Regions from separate parts of the Homo sapiens genome. Here all the other regions are linked to region 2. The links are contacts of gene promoters, found by promoter capture Hi-C in human tissues and cell types (Jung and others, 2019). All regions are on one chromosome and are shown on one strand. The core of a region is centred on a gene start or on the middle of the fragment in contact, and the rest is flanking DNA. Distances in the headings are between cores, read along the strand shown. Region 1 has its middle 92 kb from the start of SHB. Region 2 holds the start of ALDH1B1 (aldehyde dehydrogenase 1 family member B1). Region 3 has its middle 120 kb from the start of SHB.

Region 1 (4,142 bases), core at 1,178-3,677, 230 kb before region 2:
CCACTCAGGCTGCCTGGTCGTCCACACAATGGCTGCTGTCTACTGGGGGCTTTCTCTTCCAGACTCTATGCTAGATGCTTTACAAGTATTATTTTATTTCATTCTCACAATAATCCTATGAGGCAGATACCTGATCCATCCCCATTTAACAAATGAGGAAACTAAGCAGAGAGAAGTTAAGCTGCTTCTTAAAAGGCCCAAAGTCCCCCAGCTGGTGACAGCAGGACCATCAAGCTCCTAACTCATCTTTTCCATCAAGGCACCTGGGCCACTCGATAACACCAGAATGAAGGCTTTGAGTAATCACCTGTTCCCTACTCTCCCATTGTACAAATGGGAAAACTGAGGTGAGGGAGCTTGATCAAGGTCACTCGGTAAGCTAGACGTGGAACTGGAAGCTGGTCCAGATGTCCAGGTCAAGGCTCTCCTGACTCCTCTCAAGGGTGGCTGTGCCTGGGGATGCAGCAAACAGGTGGGATACCTGGACATGGTGCTGGCCAGAGTCCAACCCAGCACCTCCATCCTCACCCAGACCTCAGCCACCAGTACATTTGTGGGCAGAGCCCACAGGATCCTCCTGAAAACACCATTTCTTGGTCACAAGCTATTTTATGATTGAATTTTTCAAGATGTCTATTAGGAAATGTTTTATATATATATAGAACAATATTTGTAATGCATATATTCATTGCAAAACATGATAGTAAAATTAGCACCCATGAGCTCACCATCCACTTTTGGAACTAGAACTTTCCTGGTACTCTTGCATGTGTCTGGGTACCTCTTTCTTATTCTAGCCCTCACCTCCCCTACAAATGACCACAACCCAGGCTTTGGTGTTTATGATTTCCTGGCTGTTTTGTGATAGTTTTAGCACATATATTCATATTCCAAAGCCATATATTATTTACTTTTATTTGCATTTGAACTTTATAAAAAAATCATACTGTTTGATATTACAATAAAATATTCACAGTCTTCTGTAAATTACTTTTTTTCACCTAACGTTGTTTCTAAAATTCATCCATGTTGATGCCTGTAGCTTAGTTCATTCATTTTCCCTGCTGTGTAATATCTCACTGTGTAAAACACCACGTATTATCTATTCTTTTGCTATTAGGCATTTGGTTTGCTTCTAGTATTTTGCTATCATGAAACGCTACTATGAACATTCTTGGTCATGCCTCCCAGGGCGCATGGAAGAGATTCTCAAAGACATACCTAGGAGTGGGGTTGCTGGATCATATGACGTGTGCGTATCGAACCTTACAAGTTAAAGCCAGATCAGGAAGGGCTCCCACCTTCATTGTGTGGTTCCCTGGCTCTTCCACCTTGTGATCTCTCTCTAGCGCCCCCTGTTGGCAGAGGCTAAGAGATCGTCAGCAGGCCAAGCAGAATATTAGTGTCCCAGCTGTCATCATAAAAGGCAAATTTAGAGGGGATAGGGTTAGAGATGAGAGCCATAGCACCTAATTTAGAAATATGTGATCACCCCACCAGTGAGTAAAAAAAACTGGGCCAATGTGGCCTGAAGGTCGCCAGCTTAAAACCTCTGCAATGTGGCCTGATTTCTTACTGATCTCCACTTTGTACCCTCTGCTCTTGCCACAGGGAATGTCTCCTCCTTCCCTAAATGTGGTGCTCTTCCACGCCCATTTATCCTTTTCTCTCAATCTCAATTTTCTTTCCCACCTGGCACACTTTGCTCCCTGTTCAAGTCCTTCCTGTTGCTGAAACCCCATTTCAAATGCTGCTTCCTTCGTCATTTTTTTCTGATCTCTCCAGCTGGAGGTAATAAAGATATCCTTCTCTTGAGTTCCCCAGCTCCATATCTACCCTCTCTCTGGGCAACAAGCAGTGTTCACTTAGCATCACTGTTGTTTGGTCTATGGCTCATCTCCTCAATCAGAATTTTATTTTAAGAAAAGCAATGCAAGTAAGGGCATAGAGGAAATAATCACTCATATCACATCGCTGACACTGATACAACTTTTAATATATCCCTTTCCAGTTTCCCTGTGCACATACATTGGTATATGTAGTGCACATGTAATGTTGTATCTAATTTTTTAAAATATAAATGGGATCTCTCTGTGACACCCATGCTGGAGTGCAGTGGCAGGATTATGGCTCCCTGCAGCCCAATCGCCTGAGTTGAAGTGATCCTCCTGCCTCAGTCTCCTGATTAGCTGAGACTACAGGCATGCACTACCATGCCCAGCTTTTTTTTTTCCCCCCATTATTTTGTAGAGAGGAGTTCTTGCTATATTGCTTAGGCTGGTCTTGAACTCCTGGCCTCAAGCAATCCTCCTGCCTTGGCCTCCCTAAATGCTGGTATTACAAGTATGAGCTACTGTGCCCAGCCTCCCAGCCTGTTTTTCTTTTTCTCCCTTTATTAGGTCAAACTATTTTTTTCCTATGTTGCTTCATAACATCACAATTGTTAATGGTTATCCACTCTTCCATTGTATGTTAGTAATAGTTATAAGTGACAGAAACTCAACCTAAAAGAGCTTAGGCAAAAGGGATCTTTGTGCAGAGGCTGCTGGGGCATCTTGCAGAAACCAAGGTTAGAAATGTTGGGCTGCGGGGACCTGGAACCTGGGTGCAGATGCCTGAGGCACTGGTGCTTGCCTTGGCTTCATATTTTCCCCTCTTCTTCAGCAGACTGGCTTCCTCTGCTTTTCCTCTCCATGTGGCAGAAAATACCCACTGACCATACCCAAGCTTTACATGTGACAACACAGCCACCCAAACAGAGACTAACCCTATTTTTCAGGAGCTGGCTCCTCCTGTGGAGCAAGGGGGCAGGGTCAGATTCCACTAATGTGGTGATCTTTAAAGGACCAGGTAGCCTGTGTAGGAAGGGGATCCTGGGTTTTAGACTGCTTCCAAATAACTGCTACTGTAGTCATCTCGTGTATTAGCACATAAACCTCTCCTTAACTTGAATTATTTTCTTTGGACCAATTCTTGGAAGGGGGATGACTGGGTCATAAAGTTGGAACATTTTTGTGATGTTTGATATTATTGCCAAATTGATTTCAAGTAGTTATTCAACTTCACTCCCACCCGACAGCATTGTGCAAGAGAGCCTTTCGTTGTGCCATTGAGAGCACGGGGCATTATGGCTTGAAATAGATTTTTTTTATTATTTTAATAATCGTAAAAAGATATCTCGTAATTTTTATTAGCATTTTTCTGGTTACTAGTAAGGCTGAAGACTTTCTCATATATTTGTTTTATTGGAGTACGTTCCCTTTTGTGAATTGTCTTTTCCTGGCTTTGCCCAGTTATCGAGTGAACTGTTAATCCTGTTCAGATTTAATTGCCCCTTCCTTTTGTGTGTGCATTGCACTTTCTCTATCTTCCTTTCAGGGTATGAATAGTGGCCTATCTTGTATTGTAGTTATTTGTGTCTGTGTCTGATCTTTCTTACTGGACTGTGAGCTCCTGGTGGGCAGAGCCAGGCCTGGGCTCCAGCCTAGCATGGAGCCTTGTTCTAGTAAAGTGCTCAGTGATGGTTAATTGGGTAAAATAAGCATATGGTTTCAGTCTGCATGATGCCGAAGTGAGTGTTCAGCCTGAGGGGTGCTGCATATAGGCTGCGAGGATGTAAGAGCCTGGACCTCATTCATTCAGTCATTCAGCAAATAGTAACTGAAGATCTATTGTGTGCTGGGGTCTAGGAGGGCATCGATGAACAAGCCTCCCTGGAGCTTACAGGACAGTGGAGGTGGGAGAATTCAACAACTATTGCACAGCTACAGACAAATCCTACTTATCCCAAAGAGTTCCGGAGAGGTCTATGAATTCTGATGGAGAGGAGAACAAATCTAACATTGTCTAGGGAAGTCATTGGCAAACCTTTTCTGTAAAAGGCTAAATAGTAAGTATTTTAGGCCTTGTGGGCCACATACAGACTATGTCACATAGCCTTCCTTGTGGCTTTCTTTCCTTTTTTTAAAAAAAAATAGTTCTTTAAAAATATCTTTAAACTTCCTAGCTAAGGAGCTATGCAAAAACAGCTGAGGGCCTGATTGGATCTGTAGGCTGTAGTTTGCCAACCCTTGTCTAGCCCCTAGAGTCATAGAACATCAGGGCTGGAAGGGTCAACTCCCTCATTATTGCACAGGTGGGGA
Region 2 (3,910 bases), core at 410-2,909:
GCCAAGTGCCCAAGGGGAGCTAGGCTGTCCACGTGCTGTGGGGGAGGCAGGAGGGCCTTGGCAAGGGGCTCATGCCGTTGCTGGAGAAACCCGAGGAAAGCATGGGCATCAAGGTGATAAGATGCCAATCATAGTGCCTTCATGGATGGCTAACTTTTGCAGCAAGGGCTGTGAACATGCTAAGGATGATATGGTAGCAAAAGATTCCATAGAGATGTAGCTTAAGGAAAGAACTAAGTGAATTAGGTCCAAGCAGTCGCATGTGAGCACCCTAGATCAGTGGAGAGGCAGGGATTTAATACAAGGAACTGGGTGCTTACAGACCTGCTGCAAGTGCCGGAGGCAGAAGCAAGCCTTAGCCAGACCAGGACCAACTCTCAGGACAATATGGACGTGGCCCACCAGCCTCGTGCCTGTCTGAGGCTACTTCAGACACCCTCCTGCAGCCTCCATTCAAAGAGCAGGAAGCCAGGTCAAGGAGCGGCTACAGCCACAGCGGCCGGTCCACAGCCAGAAAGCTGGAGAAGGGACAAGGAATGCTGCCGCAGAACATCTCCCATTTCTGCTATCCTGCTAGTGCCACCCTACAGGGGCAGGACAATACCCTCCAATGCGTGCCCGCCTTCCACATCCGGCAGAGTACTACTAATTGGCAGCACCTAGTCCACATCCAGAACTCTAACTGCAAATGAGGCTGGGAAACATGGCGGTTAGCTTTGGGACCTCCCTAGCCAGAAGGAAGGTGCAGCGAGGGTGGAGCGAGTGAGATGCATGTTCAGTGGTCCATCTTGGCAACCTTTATAGCAACAAAATGGAGACAATTAAATGTCCAACAGTTTACCCCTACAACAGAATTCTATGCCACCTTGGAGAGGATGATGTCATCTGTAATTAGTGATAGGAGAAAACTTCAAAATACAGCGCTAAGTTTTTAAATTTTTTTTAAAGCAGCACAACAGAGGTTACTATATGATTTTATTTTTATTAAAATAATTTTGAAAGATGCAGAGGAAACAATACTAGCAGGACGAACACCGTAATAATGGCTACCGTAGGTGAAGAGATTACAGGTGATATTTTTCTTCTTTTTTCATCCTTTCCTGTGTTTTCCAAGCTTTCTACACTGTGCATACATTCTTTTTGTCCTTAGGACAAAAATGTACTTTGAAAAATGCCCAAATATAAAATCTTCTTGAAGGAACTGAAGAAAGGAGCAGTGAAAGTGGAGGACAGAAATTAGTGAATCCTGGACAAAAAAAGTGAGGGAGAGGCGAGGCAGAGAAGGGGTTAAGGGGAGTCTCAAGGATGGCAGTCGATTAAGCAGCGTCTTGCAGCGGGGAGAAATGCAAAGTGTAGTTGGGGTTCGGTCTCCGAAAACTTTGCTGTGTGACCTGGGGAAGCCCCTGCCCCTCTCTGGGTATCTCTGTTTCCGCTCCCAAACCAGTGCCTTAGGAGCCTAGATCTGAGCAACGTGGACACTGGGCTTGCGGAGACCCGAGGGAGGGAGCGCTGAAGCGGTGCGGGCTGCCGGGGGTAGAGGGGCGGGGACCGGGAAAGACCGGGCGGGGCGAGGGAGGAGCGGCCTTGGCCGGCGACAGGACGTAGGCAGCGCCCCAGGCGCAGGCGGAGCCTCATTGGCCGCTGAGCCCCGGGCTGCGCGGAGGCGGGACCTGCGGCCAGCCCTGGGCGGCCATGTGGACAGAGCTGGGAGGGCCGGAACCAGAACCCAAGCGTGATCCTGAACCGGAGCCCGAGCCTGCTGCAGGTAACTAACGCTGGTCTCCCCTCGGCTCCCTCGGGAAGCCGCAGCTCCTGGCTCCGCGTGGGGGCTTTCCTCTCTGGGCCGCGGCGTCCGCATCTGGGGGCTGGCCTTTCCGCCGTTGCACTGTAGGACTCTCTCCACGTCCCCTAATCCCATCCCCCGCCTCTGGGTGACGCTACAGGAGCCCCGAGGACACAGACGCCCCCAGACCTTACCACGTTAGCTCGACCTCAACACTCCTGCCCACTCGGCCCACTTCAACAGAGGGCCCCTGACCATAGCCCAGAGGCTTGGACAAGCCCAAAGGTTGCGCCCTTTCCCCCGCAGAAGGGGTGAGGTGGGCGCCGCTGCAGTTCCCGCGGATAGAGAAGGTCCGGTCCTTCCCGCTGTGGGTGAACTGTAAAAAATTGCCTGTATTCAGGAGGATATGCAAAGCTAGGTTTGTGGAAGTCTGGGGTGAGGCTCCTATACTTTCTTGCTGTGTGTCCTCGGTGAGTCCCTGAACCTCTCTGATGCCCAGCCTTCTTCCAGAATGGGGGTCATCATCAACCCTGACCACCCAGGGACTGCAGAGAGGCTTGGCAAATTTCCCGTGAGAAGACAGCCTGCAAACTGTAAAGCATGATGCTCTGTGAGCTGTGATCTTCCTATCAGCAAGTGGAGGCCCCAGCAAGAACCCCATATAGGCCCCAAGAGTAGGAACGGCCTTGGTGTGGCTGCAAAGGTTTGCCAGCCTTGGCCTATGACCACCTCTCCTGACTGCTTCACCCCTCCAATCCTTACCCCATGGGTTGGTGACTCCCCTTTCCCCTACCTCCTTTTGGTCTCCTCACCCTCAGAGCCAGGCCTGTTGGTGGCAAGGGGGCTGTGTCCCAGCATATGGCAAAGTCCTGAGCTAAATGGAACCCTGGGCACCCCTGGCAGATCTGCTGACTCAGCTTCCCCCTGTGGGATATGATGAGGTTTCTCTTCAAATAATCTGATCAATCTTTTATTCTTTAATTCTTAGTATCCCCCCCTTTTTTTTTTTCATTTTTCTCCTTTTTGCCTTTGTTAGATGCCCAGGCATGCCACAGTACCAAGCGTTATCAGTACCAGCTCACATTCCTTTGCTTATTTGGAAAGAAGACTAACTTTCTAGCTCATTACAGACACCCTTTCCCCTTTCTCTCCACTTTCTTTTACGTGCCCACTCTATCTAAAATAAATCAAATGTTTAGCCAACCGGGATTAGTTTAGATTGTACGACCTGACCCCAGCCAATGGGGAAAGGGTACAGGGGCAGGACTTGCATCAGGAATAAAGGCTCTCGTGCCCCTTTGTTCAGGTGTGCTCTCATGGCAACTGGCCAAGGAGGCATCCCTCTGCGCAGAAGTAAAATTGCTTTGCTAAGAATCCTGTGTTCGAGTGTTCAATTTCCTTAGGATTTTGAGCATTATTCCTAACACCCGCAAGGGGAAGGGAAACTTTCTTGGTCAGCATTGATTATTATTATTTTTTTTAGATACAGTCTTGTTCTGTTACCCAGGCTGGAGTGCAGTGGCACAATCATGGCTCACTGCAGCCTCAACCTCCTGGGCTCAGGTGATTGCCCCCACCTCAGCCTCCCAAGCAGCTAGAACTACAGGCATGCACCACTATGCTCGGCAAATTTATTTTTGTTTTTTTGTAGAGACACGGTTCTTGCTATGTGCTCAGGCTGGTCTCAAACTCCTGGCCTCAAGCAGTCCTTCCACTTCGGCCTACCAAAGCGTTACCAGCGTAAGCCACCACGCCCATCACATTGATTTTTATGGGGCCGGGGACCTACATGGAGCCTTGCTTTCCTGATTGAGTTTTTTGTTCCTCTCCCTGCCCAGGGGTGGAGGGTGAGAGGCTGGGGGTGAAGGGACAGGCAGGTGCAATTCCATTTTACCGCTGGGCGGAGCAAGACTCATGAGACATCAAAGGCAGAGAGATTCAAATTCTGACTGAAGAATAACTGCTTCAACTAATCTGGGAACACTACACTCTGTTTAATTTTCATTTAATATGTATTATATGCCGTTTAAGTTTTATAACAGTAGTTGTTTTAACGAAGTCTACACTCTTCAGAGTTGTAGCTTTTCTTCTCAGCTGCCTCCTGACTTGCTGCACCTCTGGGAAAGC
Region 3 (3,987 bases), core at 739-3,238, 210 kb before region 2:
CACATGGTCTTTGTACTCAGCAGACAGGCTTCTCTGCCTGAGGCCACCATCATCTTGTTCTTTCGAAAGGACGTCTATTGCTTCCAGGTGTTCTGAATGCCCTTATTCCTGCTGTAAACTCATGCTGACCACGGAGAGCAAGCAAAGGCACTTATTTGCATCCTCTGCACATTTGTGAAGGAGCTTCTGTGGGGTTCTGTCTGAGCTCTAAATTCTTCCTGGAAGTTTTGGATAAGGAAACATTCTTGACATCCTTGCACTTGGACACAGTACTGCTGATGCTGTAACTGAAGTTTTAAACTGGTAATAGGTTGGCCTGGACTTTTTGTTAATTGAAAGTGACCACAAATCCATAAGATTTGTTCAAATGTCATTATGGGTCAGGAAGAAGAGATTTGGAAGAATTTGTCTGAAGATAAGCAATTGGACAAAAAACCCCACAAAACCATCTTATGTTTACGCCCTGCTGACTTCAGACTGTTCAATACAATGATTACACATTTAAGAACATAGAGGCATACATCCCATATAAATTTTAGTGTTAGTATTCAATTCAGTAGTATATTAAAAGAATACTACATTATGACCAAGTCAGCTTTACTACAGGAATGTAAAGGTGGCTCTTTATGAACAAGTGCATTAATGCAGTTTGTCACAGCAAGAGGTCAAAAGAAAATTTTTGGCAGTAGTTTGGAAACCTGTTCACACAAGACATTTTTATTTCCTTAGCATGGGTGCCACACAGAAACCAATAGAACAAACGCCATACTTGTTTGGGATGGCTATTTATGCTGCTTTGATAGACTTATCCTTAGAGAAACTATCTTGTTTGTTTGTGTTGCTAAAAGGAATACCCAAAGCTGGGTAATTTATAAAGAAAGATTTATTTGGCTTATGGTTCTACAGGCTGTACAAGAAGCTTATCTGCTTCTGGTAAGGGCCTCAAGCTGCTTCCCCTCATGGCAGAAGGAGAAGGGGAGCCTGAGTGTACAGAGATCACATGGCCAGAGAGGAAGCAAGACAGAGGGGAGGGAGGTGCCAGGCTCTCTTTAACAACCAGTTCTGGTAGGGACTGGTAGAGTGAAAATTCACTATTGCAAGAACTTCATCAAGCCATTCATGAAGGATCCACCCCTATGACCTAAGCACCTCCCATTGGGACCCACCTCCAACATTGGGGATCAAATTTCAACATGAGGTTTGGCAGGAATTACACAAAAATGATGCTGGGTGCTCTCCATGTGCTCTATCAGGAAGTGCACAATGCCAACCCATCACACTATTGTTGACTTAATTTTAATCTTCTCCTCCAACTTTCTCCACTGTGAAGGCACCATTTTCATTATGCCAGTTTCAGAGCATGTCCCCACAAATTAAATCATAAAATTAAATCATAATTTAATCCCTTTTGGAGGGAGTAAGACATTTAGGATTTAATTTTGTGCTAAAGAATAATAATACAAAAATAGCTATCATTTAATGACCATTTATTATGTGCAAGGCACTGTGCTATGCACTTTATGCATCTTAGTTGAATGCTCAAACCCTTGAATTATGTACCATTATTATTCCCTGTTACAGATGAAGAAAATGAGCCAACTGCAGTGATGGATTTGAAGCAGGATAGATTATATGCTACCTATTCAGTCTTCTTGAGTACTATTTTTTCCCCCATTTAGTAAAAAAAAAAAAAAAAAGAAAAGAAACTGTAAAAGAAATTAGCCAAGGAGGCTGGATGCAGTGGCTCATGCCTATAATCCCAGTACTGTGGGAGGCCGAGGTGGGTGGATTACCTGAGGTTAGACATTGGAGACCAGTCTGGCCAACATGGCAAAACTCCTCCTCTACTAAAAAAAAATACAAAAATTAGCCGAGTGCGGTGGCTCATGCCTGTAATCCCAGCACTTTGGGAGGCCGAGGTGGGCAGATCACCTGAGGTCAGGAGTTAGAGACCAGCCTGACCAACATGGAGAAACCCCATCTCTACTAAGAATACAAAATTAGCTGGGCGTGGTGGCACATGCCTGTAATCCCAGCTACTAGGGAGGCTGAGGCAGGAGAATCACTTGAACCTGGGAGGTGGAGGTTGCAGTGAGCCAAGATTGTGCCGTTGCACTACAGCCTGGGCAACGAGAGTGAAACTCCGTCTAAAAAAAAAAAAAAAAAAAAAAAATTAGCAGGTCATGGTGGCACATGCCTGTAATCCCAGCTACTTGGGAGGCTGAGTATCACTTGAGTCCGGGAGGCGGAGGTTGCAGTGAGCTGAGATGGTGCCATTGCACTCCAGCCCTGGGCGACAGAGCAAGACTCCATCTCAAAAATAAATAAATAAATAAAAAAGAAATTAGCCAATGAAGAGTTAAAAACACCAAACAGAAGTGGTTTAAGTTTTTCCTTGCAGCTCAAGTGATTCTGTTTGTGACAACTAAAGACCCAGAGGTTCCATTTGATGTGTTAGTAGATAATACACCTTAAAATCTGCAACCATTTAAAAATTGGGCTAAAGACATTTAAAGCCACTAAAGTTGTCAAAAATAAACCCCACAAAACCTCATTATTTCTACCTATGTTAGGTCAGCTAGTGAAAGGAAAATGAAAGGTAATGGCTAAGAATTAGCTTTCCAAATGGCTCAGTCAAAGCCATTTGGAAATTTGCCAGTCCAAGGACCAACCCAAAAGAAACCTCAAATATAATCTCTTTGTACAAAGAAAAGAGACACCACAGGCATTATTAAAATACGAGAATTGGTGGAACCACTTCGATACTGGTCAAAAATCATGAGAATAAAATATTTTCAAATATCCTAGAGAAAGAAAGACATGTATTAATTATAAATTAAACACTATCAATCTTTGTTTCGATTCTTAATGAGTGTTTTTATCTGAGTTCGTTTTTATTAAATTTCCCTTGGGAGAGGAATGGTGGATTTACAGATCTTTTACTAGGGTCCACTTATTATGGGCGCTTTGCTAAGGCCATAAATTTTGCAGTTGAATGACAATAGCGAGGAGGGAGTAGAGCAAGCAGTGGATTGAAGCTGGGAAGGAGGGCAGGATTAAAGGTGGCTTGCACAGAAAACAGTTTTTACATTTTGATATAGCCCCAAATGACCTGGGTTAAAAGTACCACATTAACATGTCCTTTGAATAAAAATAGCCACATCAAAATGGACAGCTTCACTCAGATGTCTATCATAACACTCACTCTGGTTCAAAAAATTTATGATTCATAGGCTTAACAATAAACACACAGCTTTAGCTCCTTCTGAAGACCTGAAAGGTCATGGACTGGAATCCTGAGTTGTGAGGCCAGTTTCCTGAACCAAGATTCAGAGCTAGCCAGTGAACCTAGCAGATGGGCCAGCGTTCAATTTCCACTGAAGTCTGGCGTTCTCAATTCCTGTAACCGCCCAAGGGGTTCACCTTGCCTGCTGCCTACACAGACTCGATTCATCAAGACAGGGGAATTGCAATAGAGAAAGAGGAATTCGTGCAGAGTCAGCTGTGCATTAAACCAGAGTTTTATTATTACTCAAATCAGTCTCCCCAAGCAGAGTTTTTAAGGATAACTTGGTGGGTAGGGGGAAGCCAGTGGAGCCAGGAGTGCTGATTGGTCAGAGATGAAATCATAGGGAGTTGAAACAACCCTTTCCCAAAGCACACCTCCTTCTTGCCTGGGGACTAGACTGCCTTTGTAGGACTAACATTAGCCACAAGATTAGAGATTATGGTTTAGGAGTCATGCAATTGGAGGCTACAAGATTCTGACCCTCCCTAAACTGCTCCTAAGATCAATGCTTGAGATGCTTTGCAAATGCTGCACTTAATGGATCAGGGGGCACCACCTAGATCAATAAACTGGCTTATTTGATCCTGTGGCCCCCACCCAGGAACTGACTCAGTGCAAGAAGCCAGCTTTGACTCCCTGTGATTTCATCTCTGACCAATCAGCACTCCTGGCTCACTGGCATCCTCCAGCCTACCAAA

The links. The method cuts DNA at HindIII sites, captures the fragments that hold promoters and counts their contacts. A contact is called where the count stands out against the background at its distance.
Region 1: a fragment that was not itself captured here is called in contact with the fragment with the promoter of ALDH1B1 in region 2 in 2 of the 25 tissues and cell types used here (lymphoblastoid cells and mesendoderm cells).
Region 3: a contact is called between a fragment that was not itself captured here and the fragment with the promoter of ALDH1B1 in region 2, in 1 of the 25 tissues and cell types used here (stomach).

Annotation. Positions count from the first base shown.
Region 1 is chr9:38,159,459-38,163,600 of GRCh38, forward strand. No RefSeq gene overlaps it. Among named protein-coding and RNA genes, the nearest start is that of SHB, 92 kb to the left of the region's middle. The HindIII fragment of the contact is 3,402 bases long and covers 727-4,128 here.
Region 2 is chr9:38,391,043-38,394,952 of GRCh38, forward strand. ALDH1B1 (aldehyde dehydrogenase 1 family member B1) reads left to right here and starts at 1,660. Exons shown (of 2, transcript NM_000692.5): 1 at 1,660-1,765. RefSeq lists a silencer at 1,427-1,746 and enhancers at 1,957-2,006, 2,047-2,136. The HindIII fragment of the contact is 12,047 bases long and covers 1-3,910 here.
Region 3 is chr9:38,183,206-38,187,192 of GRCh38, forward strand. No RefSeq gene overlaps it. Among named protein-coding and RNA genes, the nearest start is that of SHB, 120 kb to the left of the region's middle. The HindIII fragment of the contact is 5,311 bases long and covers 1-3,987 here.